Regions from separate parts of the Homo sapiens genome. Here region 1 is linked to region 2. The links are contacts of gene promoters, found by promoter capture Hi-C in blood cells and fetal thymus (Javierre and others, 2016). All regions are on one chromosome and are shown on one strand. The core of a region is centred on a gene start or on the middle of the fragment in contact, and the rest is flanking DNA. Distances in the headings are between cores, read along the strand shown.

Region 1 (5,927 bases), core at 3,265-5,764, 100 kb before region 2:
GCAGTGAGCTGAGATCATGTCACTGTACTCCAGCCTGGGTGACAAGAGTGAGACTCCATCTCAGAAAAAAAAAAAAAAACGAAAACAAACAAAAAAATAAAATGTTCACTTTTGGGCTCTATGCCCAACAAGTGAGGTTGCTGGACTGTGACTACAAGGACACCTGAGCTGTAACTGTGTCCATGCATCTCATTTTCTCTTGAGAAGACTAAAGAACTGACCTTTAAAATAAACACAGCTCCATGGTGGCCCCTTTCAAAGTCATCACCTCAGGAGGCCACACACGTGCCTGAAGGATGCTGCCTTGGCTTGCAAACCTCTCAAGCTCCCCCAGAGTAGCCTTCAGGGTCCCCTCCCCGCTACACAACAGCAGCCAGCTTTGCTAGCAGTCACTTCTATGCTTCTCTCCCACTGACAGTTACTGTGAGTGAGCCTCTGCAAGTATTAACAGCGCCTAATTAATGCAGTGACCCAGGATACAGCGGTGACAAACTCCTCACCCTCCAGGTAGGGCCTCTGTGGCTGAAAATCTTACAATGGGCTGGTGAGGGGGAGGGGGCAGGCAGGGTTAATGTAAGCTGAGCCCAGGAGTCCAACCGTTGCCTTCTCAGTCATCACTGCACCTCAGAGCCAGCAGAGGGCAGCCGCAGCACCTCTGGGCTGGTGTTGGCTCTCTTCATCAGTGGGTCAAACGCTGTACAAAAACAACTCACCAAGTTCTCCAGGCCCAGAGGTAAGTGTGTATAGGAGACATGCCCAAACATTTGCAGCCCTATACACGGGTGCTTACAATCTTAGCCACTGATACAGACAAACACAGAAAAGGAAGTTTTTCATCTAAGCATATAGACAAGTCGATGATGAACATATTAATTTCATTTACTTAAAAAGATATTGGCTGGCCGCGGTGGCTCACGCCTGTAATCCCAGCACTTTTGGAGGCTGAGGCAGGTGGATCACCTGAGGTCAGGAGTTCGAGAAAGCCTGACCAACATGGTGAAACCTCATCTCTACTAAAAATACAAAAATTAGCCGGGCATGGTGGCACATGCCTGTAATCCCAGCTACTCAGGAGGCTGAGGCAGGAGAACTGCCTGAACCCGGGAGATGGAGGTTGCAGTGAGCTGAGATCATGCCATTGCACTCCAGCCTGGGCAACAAGAGTGAAACTCCATCTCAGAAAAATGGAAAACAAAAACAAAAAGATACTGTATGGAGTCAAAAAAGTTGGGCAGTGGAAAGTGTGAACATTCATATGCTGCACAAATTGGTGCACGCCTCTGCGAGGTACTGAGAAACTTAAAAATGTCCATCTCTTTGGCTCACCTATTTGGTTCTAATAATTTATTCGAAGAAAATAATCACAAGTGTGTGGTGAAGACTTATCTACAAAGCTGTTTAACTCAGCACCTTTTTAACAGGTTAAAGCTAGGAACAACCTAATGCACATGGCCAGGAGAAAGGCTACATAAAATATGGGCATCCACTCGAGGCATCAGCGGCAGCCACTCTGTGATGGTGAGGTAGGATGCTAACACGGGAAAACGTCCACCATACAGTGAAAAAAGGTCTCAAACAGCAAGCGCACAGTGCTCCAGCTTTTGATTCAAAAAAAGTATGTATTGGCCAGGTGTGGTGGTTCACCCCTGTAATCCCAGAACTTTGGGAGGCTGAGGCAGGCAGATCACTTGAGGTGAGGAGTTCAAGACCAGCTGGGACAACATGGTAAAAACCCATCTCTACAAAAATACAAAGATACAAAAATTAGCCAGGCTTGGTGGTGCGCGCCTGCAGTCCCAACTACTTGGGAGCTTGAGGCAGGAGAATTGCTTGAACTGAGGAGGCGGAGGTTGCAGTGAGCCAAGATTGCACCACTGCACTCCAGCCTGGGTCACAGAACGAGACTGTGTTTCAAAAAAAAAAAAAAAAAAAAGGGTGTATAATTATTATTTTTTGTTTGTTTTTAGACGGGGTCTGGCTCTATCACTCAGGCCATGTGATCATAGCTCACTGCAGCCTCAACCTCCTGGGCTCAAGCGATGCTCCCACCTCCGCCTCCTGAGGAGCTGTGATTATAGGCATGTACCACCATGACTGGATAATTTAAAAAAAATTTTTTTTTTTTTTAGAGATGGGGTCTCGCCATGTTGCCCAGGCTGGTCTCAAACTCCTCCTGTCTTCAAGTGATCCTCCTTCTTCTGCCTCCCAAAGTGCTCAGCTGTATAATTATATATATTAAAAAGACAGGAGGGCTGAGCACAGTGGCTCGCACCTATAACCCCCGCACTTTGGGAGACTGAGGCGGGAGGATAACTTGAGCCCAGAAGGTCAAGGCTGCAGTGATGAGCTATGATTACGCCACTATACTCCAGACTGGGCGACAGAGTAAGACCTGGTCTTTAAAAGAGAAAAAAGGCTGGAAGAATTTATATCAAAATGTAAACAGTGGTTATATTTCATTGGCAGTTACCGATGATTTCTTCTTGGTTTATATTTTCCAAGTTTTCTACAATAAGAATGTATTACTTTAATAATAAGAATAATACCATAAAAGTTGTTAATAAGGAAAGAGGATACTTGGAGTTCTGGGGTGCAGCCATGGAAAAGTGGGAAGAGTTTGGGGAGCCGACGGTGGTGCTGACTTGCTAAGCCCATACCCTGTAGGATATCAGTTACTGACAGCTCCTGGAGGCTTTGTCCAGGGCCAGGCAGGCTCTGCTGGTTTCAGCAGCAGGAGCATTTAGTAGCTTCTACTTACATCTCCTGTCCTAGATAAGCTTCAGGTCAAAGACAGAGTAACAGAAATGGTTCCTGTCCTTAATGAAGCTGACAAAGGCATACAACCTGCACGGGGAGGCAGCAGAGCAACACACCCACAAAAAGCATGCGTTTCCGCAATTGTGCTGGGCAGAGGACACCAAAAGACATTTTTTGTTTAAACTTTTTTTTTTTTTTTAATAGAGAGGTCTCCCTATGTTGCCCAGGCTGGTCTCGAACTCCTGGGCTCAAGGGATCCTCCTGTCTCGGCCTCCCGAAGTGCTAGGATTACAGGTGTGAGCCACCATGCCTGGCCAACATTTGTGATTGAGCAGAGAATGTATATGTCTGTGTATAGAGGCAAAGGCTAGGGTCCCAAAGAGTTGTCGAAACCTCCCGTATTAGGATCTCCTGGGGTGCTGGTTCAAAAGACAGATTCTCAGGGCCTACCTCACACCCATGGAACCAGTTACAGGGGCTGGGCTGGGGTATGTACTTGATCTGACTTAAGAACCTATTTGTAAACACAGCAAAACAGGAGTGGAAATGGCATGCCCAGCCACATCTTAACAAACAGTTCAACACATGGTCTCCAGAGGTGCTGCTGAGAGCTGATTTGGGAGGGAAGAGAGCAAGAGGGCACTACGTCTGGGCTGGAGGAGGATAATGATGGTGGATGCTGTGGTTTGGCCTCAATAATGAATGGTGTCTGGTGATATCACCCCAAGGGAGGGCACCGAAAGGAGAGTGGGAGACAGAGCATTTAAGGTCCTCTCCAAGTTGCCCAGAGCTGGTGTGCATCTATGAGTGTGAGTGTGTATGCGTGTGTGTGTGTTTACTCCCACCACTCAATTCACACTGCTGAACTCAGGATGGCTACACAGAAGAGGAGATTCCAAAAACACAAGGAAGGATGGCAGACCCTAGCTGAATAGATCCCACTGCCTCACACAGTGCCTGGCCCAGCGCGGTTCTCAGCAAGTACCTGCTGAATTGAGAAAGGAACTGACCGAGGCGCCGTGAGCAGGTGGGGAGGGGTGGAGGAGTTACAGCTCCTGCAGCAGCAGGGAGGCAGGCGGAGGCAGGGGAGAGGTCTGCAGCGGGCTGGCCCCTCCTTCAATTCTTGATCTCAGACCCCAGGAGATGGTTCTTGTGACTTCAGGGACTGGAATAAGTGAGCCACTGGGATGTGACACCAAATCTGAGACCAGCCAAAGGGAGCAGAGATTTCCCCAGTCAGGCCACCCAAGCCAGGAAACAGCCCTATTTATACCTGCGGCAATCCCCAAGCTGTTCCACACTCGGTTACCAAGTTCTGTCCCCAGGCCCTTACTCCAGGGATGGGGCCAACAGTGTCCTTCCCAGATGCACCGATTATGTGACAAGTCTGGGCTTGCTCTGGCTGGTGTGAGAGACACGGCTCTCACACCAGACGGGAGAAGGCAGGAACAAGAGCCTCCTTGTCCCAACAGCTGGCCGGCAAGGGCCCTCTGGCCAGGATACAGACTCGAATCTCTTGTTTCTCTCCTCCCACCCCAGCAGTCACAGCTGAAACACAGGTAGTCTGAAGTGTCCCACCTGGCAGCGGGAACAAGGGGTCAGGAAGAACACAGGGCCCAGAAGAAGGATCAGCCCAGGCGGGGAGGGGGGAGCCAGGGGGTGTGGTGCCCAGGTAATCCCTTCAGGAAGCGCGATATTTATAGTTAGACTTAGCAGAGATGACCCTCAGAGCCTAGGTAACTTTTGAAGGGAAAGTGCTGGCCCAGCTCTGGTCAGCTGGGGCCTCCCATGCTCTGGGATTTGGTGGCCTCTTTACAGGCCTGTGGGCCTTTCCTCCTCTCGGGCCCCAGCTCAGGGAGGGAAAGGGGTGGAGCCAGTTGCTAAGTGATGGGCCAGGCTTCTTACCGGGCATCTCTAGAGGTACAGTGGGTCCCAGGTGGTCCTGAGCAGAGCTGAAGGATCAAGGCAGGGTGGCACCCCTGAGAGCCCCCTTCTCGGCTCTAGGATGATGCCCAGCCCATGGCAACAGAAATTCTCTGCAATGATCTTGTTTGTCTGCCTGAGGCTGGGACATCCTCCAGTTCATCTTTTTGATCCTACAGACAGAGTTAATGCCTGGCATGCTGCACGGGCGAGTGAAATGGGCAGGCAGTTTAGGAAAAGAAGGAGGAGCTGGAGAGGGGAGGCACAGATCAGATGGGAGAGTAGACAGAGCTGTCTGCAAGAAACCCCTGCAAAGGGGGAACAGAGGACTATGTTTTGTGAACAAGCCTCACTGAATAGGAAGAGGCAGAAAGAAAGGGAGTGGGTGGAGGTGGGAGTCCAGGAGGGACAAAACCAGTCACTGAGGTAGGTGTACAGTGAGGAAACCTGCTGGAGGAGGCAGGCCCGGATCCTCTGTGGCCATGAGAGAGACAAAATTGCAGCCAAGAGAAACAGACCTACCCAAGGCCTCAGTGTGCGGGCAGCCACAGATACGGACAAGGGGGCACACATGCGTGAGACAGGGTGTGCTTTCATGGTGCTGCATACAACGTACACATTCACGGGGTCGGCTGCCTGGCTGGGCTCAGGGAGAGCAGGCCTTTTTCTGCTCTCTGGTCCGTGAGTCCAGCCTGGGGGCCCTGGCCACATCTGGCCGGGCTCGGGGAAGGGTGGTCTCCCAGAGCTGGGCACTGACCAGCCATCCCCCGACCCATTTCCAGAGGAAAACTGGCCTATCTGATATCAATTACAAACAGAGCCCCCAAATCTTCAGGATCTAACTCTAGGGTTTTCGTTTAGTCTTTTTTTGAGACGGAGTCTTGCTCTGTTGCCCAGACCAGAGTACAGTGACGCAATCTCAGCTCACTGCAACCTCCACCTCCTGGGTTCAAGTGATTTTCCTGCCCCAGCCTCCCAAGTAGCTGGGATTACAGGCGTGTGCCACCATGGCTAGTTTTTGTATTTTTAGTAGAGATGGGCCAGGCTGGTCTTGAACTCCTGGCCTCAAGTGATCCGCCTGCCTTGGCCTTTCAAAGTGCTGGGATTATAGGCGTGAGCCACTGCGCCCAGCCTGACTCTAGGGTTCTATCCTGCCATGCAACTAACATGTTTTCTGAGGCTGCTTTGGAGAGAATACTATACTTCACAAGCAGAGTAAGACATAGGTGGGAATTACCGCACTTCCC
Region 2 (6,594 bases), core at 1,867-4,366:
TTCAATTCTGTCCCTAAGCAGTTCCGTAACCTCAGACAAATCATTCAACTCTACTGGGACTCAATCTCCTTGTGTTCACATTCAGTGAGGGAGTAGGATTAAATGCTAAGGTCCCTTCCAGCTCTAACCTTTTATGATTCTGTAACTATACAGATACAGTCAACCCCCATATCTGCGGAGGGATTGGTTCCAGTCCTCCCTTCAGATACCAAAATCCATGGATGCTCAAATCTGATATAAAATGGCATAGTGTTTGCATATAACCTATACGTATCTTCCCATATACTTTAAATCATTTCTAGATTACTCATAATACCTAATACAAAGTAAATGCTACACATAAACACTTTTTTTGTTTGTTTTTGAGATGAAGTCTCGCTCTGTTGCCCAGGCTGTAGTGCAGTGGCAAGATCTCGGCTCACTGCAACCTCCGCCTTCTGGGTTCAAGCAATTCTCCCTGCCTCAGCCTCCCAAGTAGCTGGGATTACAGGCACCTGCCACCTCGCCCAGCAAATGTTTGTATTTTTAGTAGAGACGGGGTTTCGCAATGTTGGCCAGGCTGGTCTTGAACTCCTGACCTCAGGTGATCTGTCTGCCTTGGCCTCCCAAAGTGCTGGGATTACAGGTGTGAGCGAACCACCATGCCCAGCTGCCCCCAAATATTTCCAATCCATGGTTGGATTGGATCAGCAATGTGAAACCCACAGGTATGAAGAGCAAACTTCTTTGGTAAGTGTAAATGAAATGTTTATAAAGCACTTAGCACAATACCCGGCTCATGGAAGTACTCAATAAATATTTGTTGAATGAATGACCTGGAGGGATGCAGAAGTGGAAAGCCTGGCCAGATGTCTATCTGTCCTACAAATACCAGCAAGGACACTCCTGCCAATGTGGTAACACTAAATAAGTGTCTGCTGTTATCATTCTTCCTGATTCATAAAGAGAGAAATACAAACTGTTATTAAAATCATGGCACTTAGGAGCTAGAAGTCGTTTTTGAAAACAAGCCCAACCAGAAATCAGCCCAACCGTGTAAACAGAAAGCTCCTAGACGCACAGATACAGATTTGGGTGAACAAAGTCTGAGGCTAGGGCCTCTCTCCATTAGCTAATGGGGTATGGGATGCCAGGAAAATTACATATGTAGTAAGTGGGCCGCAACTGAACACACAGACTTTTCTTTTTTTTTTTTTTTGAGATGGAGTTTCACTCTTGTTGCCCAGGCTGGAGTGCAATGGCACAATCTGGGCTCACCACAACCTCCGCCTCCTGGGTTCAAGCAATTCTCCTGCCTCAGCCTCCTGAGTGGCTGGGATTCCAGGCATGTGCCACCACGCCTGGCTAATTTTGTATTTTTTTAGTAGAGACCGGGTTTCTCCATGTTGGTCAGGCTGGTCTCAAACTCCCGACCTCAGGTGATGTGCTTGCCTCAGCCTCCCAAAGTGCTGGGATTGCAGGCGTGAGCCACCGCACCTGGCCCAGACTTTTCATCTCAAGAAATAGAAGTAAAGCAAAATTCAAAAAGATGTGTGTAGGGGAGAAGGGGCTAATCTCAGTGAACGGGAGGAAACAGAGCAAAGCGCAGCTTTACTACCACCCCAAGCACAAGCCCGAGTACTCTGATCCTTCAGTAATAGTCACAGGCCATACTGGTCATCTGCCACCAGACTGGAGGAGATTGCTGGCCACAACACTCCCCTCTTCCCATGGCTTTAAGTCACATCTGTTTCCCAATGGGAAAGTCGACTGAGGGGACAGGGAAGGACAGACGGCAAAGCCATCAGAAGTCAGGTGAACTGAGATCAAAGTCGTGGCGAATGTCATCTGGACAAAGACGCTGCTCTCAGGATGTTTGCAATCTCAAGTAGGAGATACCCAACATCAATAAAGAGTAGCATTTTATTCATGTGCAGACCTCCCTTCTGGGCTAACACGCTGAGAAGAAAAAGAGTAACAACTTTATTTTGGGGCTGCTTATCTTTTGATGACGGGCCCACACAACCAGAGTTCGGCTTTTTCAACCAGAGAAAGCTTACTGAAGTGGGGATGAGGGGCCGCGAAGAGGATCGGACCGCAGGACTGGAAGCTGCAGTTTAAAAAACCGGGAAAAGGCCGGAGGCAGTGGCTCATGCCTGTACTCCCTGCACTTTGGAAGGCCGAGGCGGGCGGATCAAGAGATCAAGACCATCCTGGCTAACATGGTGAAACCCCGTCACTACTAAAACTACAAAAATTAGCTGGGCGTGGTGGCGCGCGCCTGTAAGTCCCAGCTGCGCGGGAGGCTGAGGCAGGAGAATCGCTTGATGCCGGGAGGCGGAGGTTGCAGTGAACAGAGATCGCTCCACTGCACTCCAGCCTGGCGACAGAGCGAGACTCCTCAAAAACAAAACAAAAAAACCGGGAAAAGGTTTTATTTCTCAATGACAGCCGCGAGGTGAAACTGCGATGGACTGGAAGTCAAAAACCGTGGGTTCCAGTTTGGGCTCTATCTTAACTATCTTGATCATTTTGGACAAGTCAAACCCTGTCTCTGAATCTGAGGTTCCATATCTGTGAAACAGACGAGTTGGGTCGCTTGACCTCCTTCCCTCCTGCTCTGAGCGTAACGATTGCTCGGAAGGTGCGCTCGGGCTGAGGAGGGCACGGCCCCGCAGGGCGGGGCGAGGAGAGAGCAGGAACCCGCACTCAAGACAAGGCCCCAGGGCAGTGCCCTACCCAGAAAAAGGGACTAGGATGGGGAGCAAGGGCCGAGGCTTCGCCCTTACCTGCCGCCTGCCGACTCCCCAGTCAGCCAAACCGAGCCCCGTAGCCTCTGCCGCCGCTCACTGCCACCCCCTCCGACTCGGCGCCCCGGCCGGGCCCGGCTCAATCCAAACCACCATGGCCCGCCGCCCGCAGCGCCAGGCAGCGGACCCGGACCCGCCGCCAGCCCATCCTCAACCACACGCGCAGGCGCCAGCGTGGACCTCTGAAGTTCCGCCCCCGGATTTGTCCCGGGGTAACCTGGGAAATGGAGTTTACTCGCAAGGATAAAGAGTACCAATTGACACGTGTCTTACTGCGGAACTGTGCCTGGGTTTGGCCAATGAGAAATCGACTTCGTTTTCATCCTGGTTTTGGGACAGCGGCAATCATGGCGCCACCTGTGAGATACTGCATCCCCGGTAAGTGAGCGCTTCCCGTACAGAGTCCTGGATAGGGGCTGAAGCAAGAAGGCTAAACGGCCTACAGCTTCTGGGGGCCCGTGACCGATGCAGCATTTTTTCTGCAGGCGAACGTCTGTGTAACTTGGAGGAGGGCAGCCCGGGCAGCGGCACCTACACCCGCCACGGCTACATCTTTTCGTCGCTTGCCGGCTGTCTGATGAAGAGCAGCGAGAATGGCGCGGTAAAGGAAGCGGCATGCCATCTCCCCTCTGTTTTTCCCTTAGGCTGCCCTTGAGTTCCAGTCCTTAGGCATGGGCACTGCGGACGCGTCTTTAGTGCCTCAGTGGTACAATGTTGGTCTCTTAGTTTCTTCTAGCCGTATCGCCGCTGTGGTGCACTTAGCCACCACACACTAGTTGTGTTGATCTCGCTTGGTTGTGCTGCTGACCCTCGGGGAGGGAAGTTGGGACAAAAGCAGATGCGAACTCAGTATCCCATCCCAGCCCAGCTCAGCCCAGCAGTGAGTTGCATACTGTATGAATGTTGCTTACCTTTCCGACTTTATCTAGCGCCACTATCTCCACCTCACTGACGCAATCTAGTCATACTGTCTTTTCTGTGTTTAAAAGTTATAATCACAGTCTCTGCTTGCCCTTTAAAAATTTTTTATAACATACTAGCTTCTTTCAGTGTCGGTAATGCGCCAAGCTTTCTCCTGCTACAGAGCCTTTGTAACATGCCATCTATCTGGAACGCTTCTATCTTCCTAGGCCTATTTAATTCCTACCTCCTTTAGATAGCTTCTCTACTATCACCTCAGAGAAGTCCTTCTGGACCCACTAATTGAGGAAAGGAGTTTTGTGGGGTGTTTTGTTTTTGTTTGTTTTGTTAAAGACTCACAAAAAACTCTGTTCCTTTTCTTCCAAGCACTATGTCAGCATATGATGAGACACTCAGGTATATGTTTCCTACTAGACTTCTCCCCTGCTTAAATCTAAGTCCGTGAAAGCAGGCCCTACCACCATACCATCCGTATATAGCACAAGGCAGCTCCTCAATAAATGTTGAATGTGTGAGTAATACCTACCTTTCTAGTTTCAGAGATAGATCCAGGATTAGCTCAGGATCATATAAGCAATATTTGAAGGAGCACAATAGAAAGAGGATTCAGAATTAGAACAGTTACGTTCTGGCTAACTTGACTTTGATTCTGCTTTGAGTAAGTAACTTAAGCTGTCTGATTCAAGGGGCTTTCTATTCAGTCATTGTTGGGAATGTTCTTAACAGTCCTGAGTTTGTTCATTTCATAGATATCACTTGAGTATTTTCATGTGTCAGGCACAGCGCTGACTTGGTTTCTGCTATCAAAGGACACAGACACAAATTGTAAACAAATAAATGCTCAAATGAGCATATGGTTACATATGTGGTGGTGCTTTGAAAGAATATTACAGGGCACCTTGAGAACATGTAACAGGCAAACCCATCCTAGTCAGCAGAAGTGACATTTAAGCTGAATCATCTAAAGAGTAGGTAAGAGTCAGGTGGGTGGAGAGAGTGCAGCTCTGGCAGAAAGAATAGGTTGAAGAGAGATCTGAAAGTGGGAAGAATTTAGTAAGTTGGGGAAACTGAAAGAAGGCCAGGAGAGCTGAAGCATTGTGAGCAACGGAGAGATTGATAAAAGATGAGGCTCAAAATATCTGTCTTATACCAACAGCCAATACCATGCTCAAAGAGAAAACTCTGCAAGTATTCACTTAAAATAGAAGAAAACAAGCATAGCCGCTATTATGTAACATTTTTGTGGAAATTTCAGCCTGTGCAATAAAATAAGAAACAGAAGGAAGCAGTATAACTTTGGAGGAAAGAGTAAATTGTCGGCAGGGCGCAGTGGCTCACACCTGTAATCCCAGCACTTTGGGAAGCCAAGGCAGGTGGATCACCTGAGGTCAGGAGTTCGAGACCAGCCTGGCCAACATGGTGAAACCCCATCTCTACTAAAAATACAAAAAATTACCCGAGCATGGTGACAGGCTTCTGTAATCCCAGCTACTCGGGAGGCTGAGGCAGGAGAATCACTTGAACCCAGGAGGTGGAGGTTGCAGTGAACCAAGATGGCACCCTTGCACTCCATCCTAGGCAACAAGAGTGAAACTCCATTTCAAAAAAAAACAAAAAAAGTAAAATTGTCAATGATTATAGGCAATATAGTTGTATACCAAGAAATTCTGAGAGAATCACCAAAAAACTTATTAGAAGTTTAGAGATTTACTACAAAAAAAAGTAGCTGGGCATGGTGGCGGGTGCCTGTAGTCCCAGCTACTCGGGAGGCTGAGGCAGGAGAATGGCGTGAACCCGGGAAGTGGACCTTGCAGTGAGCCGAGATCGTGCCACTGCACTCCAGTCTAGGCGACAGAGCAAGACTCCGTCTCCAACAACAAAAAAAGAAGTTTAGAGATGTATGTCTTCTAGCAGCATTCTGTAGCCTCCTGGTCCTCCTATTTCCTAAAATTTCTAAGGCCTTCTGCTCTGGGCTATAAATGAATCCATACTCCAACTCTCACCTTTATACCAAGACATTCCTATATTACTCTCAAGCCACAAATGCCTTGACCCAAGGGTTAGTCAGGACATTTCAGTTTTTTGTTGTTCCCTCTGTAGCTTCCAGTGGTGTCTGTAGTGAGAGAAACAGAGTCCCAGTTACTGCCAGATGTGGGAGCTATTGTAACCTGTAAGGTAAGTTGGTCCTGACCTCCATGCTTAGAATGCCCATTCAATACTGAAATCATGACCATACCAGAACTGCAGTGTCCAGTATGATAGCCACAAGCTACATAAATTTATTTCTGGCAGGGCACAGTGGCTCACACTGGTAATTCTAGCACTTTAAGAGGCCGAGGCAGGAGGATTGCTTCAGCCCAGAGTTCAAGACCAGCCTGGGAAACATAGTGAAACCTCATCTCTACAAAAAGAATCAAAAATTGCCGGGCATGGTGGCTCATGCTTGTAATCCCAGCACTTTGGGAGGCCGAGGTGGGCAGATCACCTGTGGTCAGGAGTTCAAGACCAGCCTGGCCAATCATGGCCAACATGGTGAAACCCTGTCTCTACCAAAAATACAAAAATTAGCTTAGCGTGGTGGTGCATGCCTGTAATCCCAGCTACTCGGGAGGCTGAGGCAGGAGAAGTGCTTGAACCCAGGAGGTGGAGGTTGCAGTGAGCCTGCGTCACAGCAGTCCAGCCTGGGCAACAGAGTGAGACTCCGTCTCAAAAAAAAAGAAGAAGAAGAATAAAAAATTAGCCAGGCATGGTAGCACATGCTTGTGGTCCCAACTACTTGGGAGGCTGAAGCAGGAAGATCGCTTGGGCCCAGGGGGTTGAGGCTGCAGTGAGCCATGATCACTCCAGCTTGGGTAACAGGGCAAGACTCTGTCTCTCAAGAAAA

Evidence for each region. The method cuts DNA at HindIII sites, captures the fragments that hold promoters and counts their contacts. A CHiCAGO score of 5 or more calls a contact.
Region 1: a contact is called between a fragment that was not itself captured here and the fragment with the promoter of EXOSC1 in region 2, in 2 of 17 cell types (M0 macrophages and M1 macrophages). The highest score is 5.3, in M0 macrophages.

The regions. Positions count from the first base shown.
Region 1 is chr10:97,548,400-97,554,326 of GRCh38, reverse strand. All of the region lies in intron 1 of UBTD1 (ubiquitin domain containing 1), which reads right to left. It overlaps LOC124902488 (a long non-coding RNA gene), which reads left to right. Exons shown (of 3, transcript XR_007062259.1): 2 at 419-507. Among named protein-coding and RNA genes, the nearest start is that of ANKRD2, 21 kb to the left of the region's middle. RefSeq lists a silencer at 523-602 and enhancers at 152-653, 2,445-2,945. The HindIII fragment of the contact is 3,470 bases long and covers 2,780-5,927 here.
Region 2 is chr10:97,442,528-97,449,121 of GRCh38, reverse strand. It overlaps EXOSC1 (exosome component 1), which reads left to right and starts at 3,116. Exons shown (of 8, transcript NM_016046.5): 1 at 3,116-3,167; 2 at 3,275-3,390; 3 at 5,811-5,885. The coding sequence starts at 3,137. ZDHHC16 (zDHHC palmitoyltransferase 16) reads right to left here and starts at 2,947. Exons shown (of 12, transcript NM_198046.3): 1 at 2,769-2,947. RefSeq lists a silencer at 2,686-2,895 and enhancers at 2,827-3,406, 3,407-3,987. The HindIII fragment of the contact is 1,823 bases long and covers 2,037-3,859 here.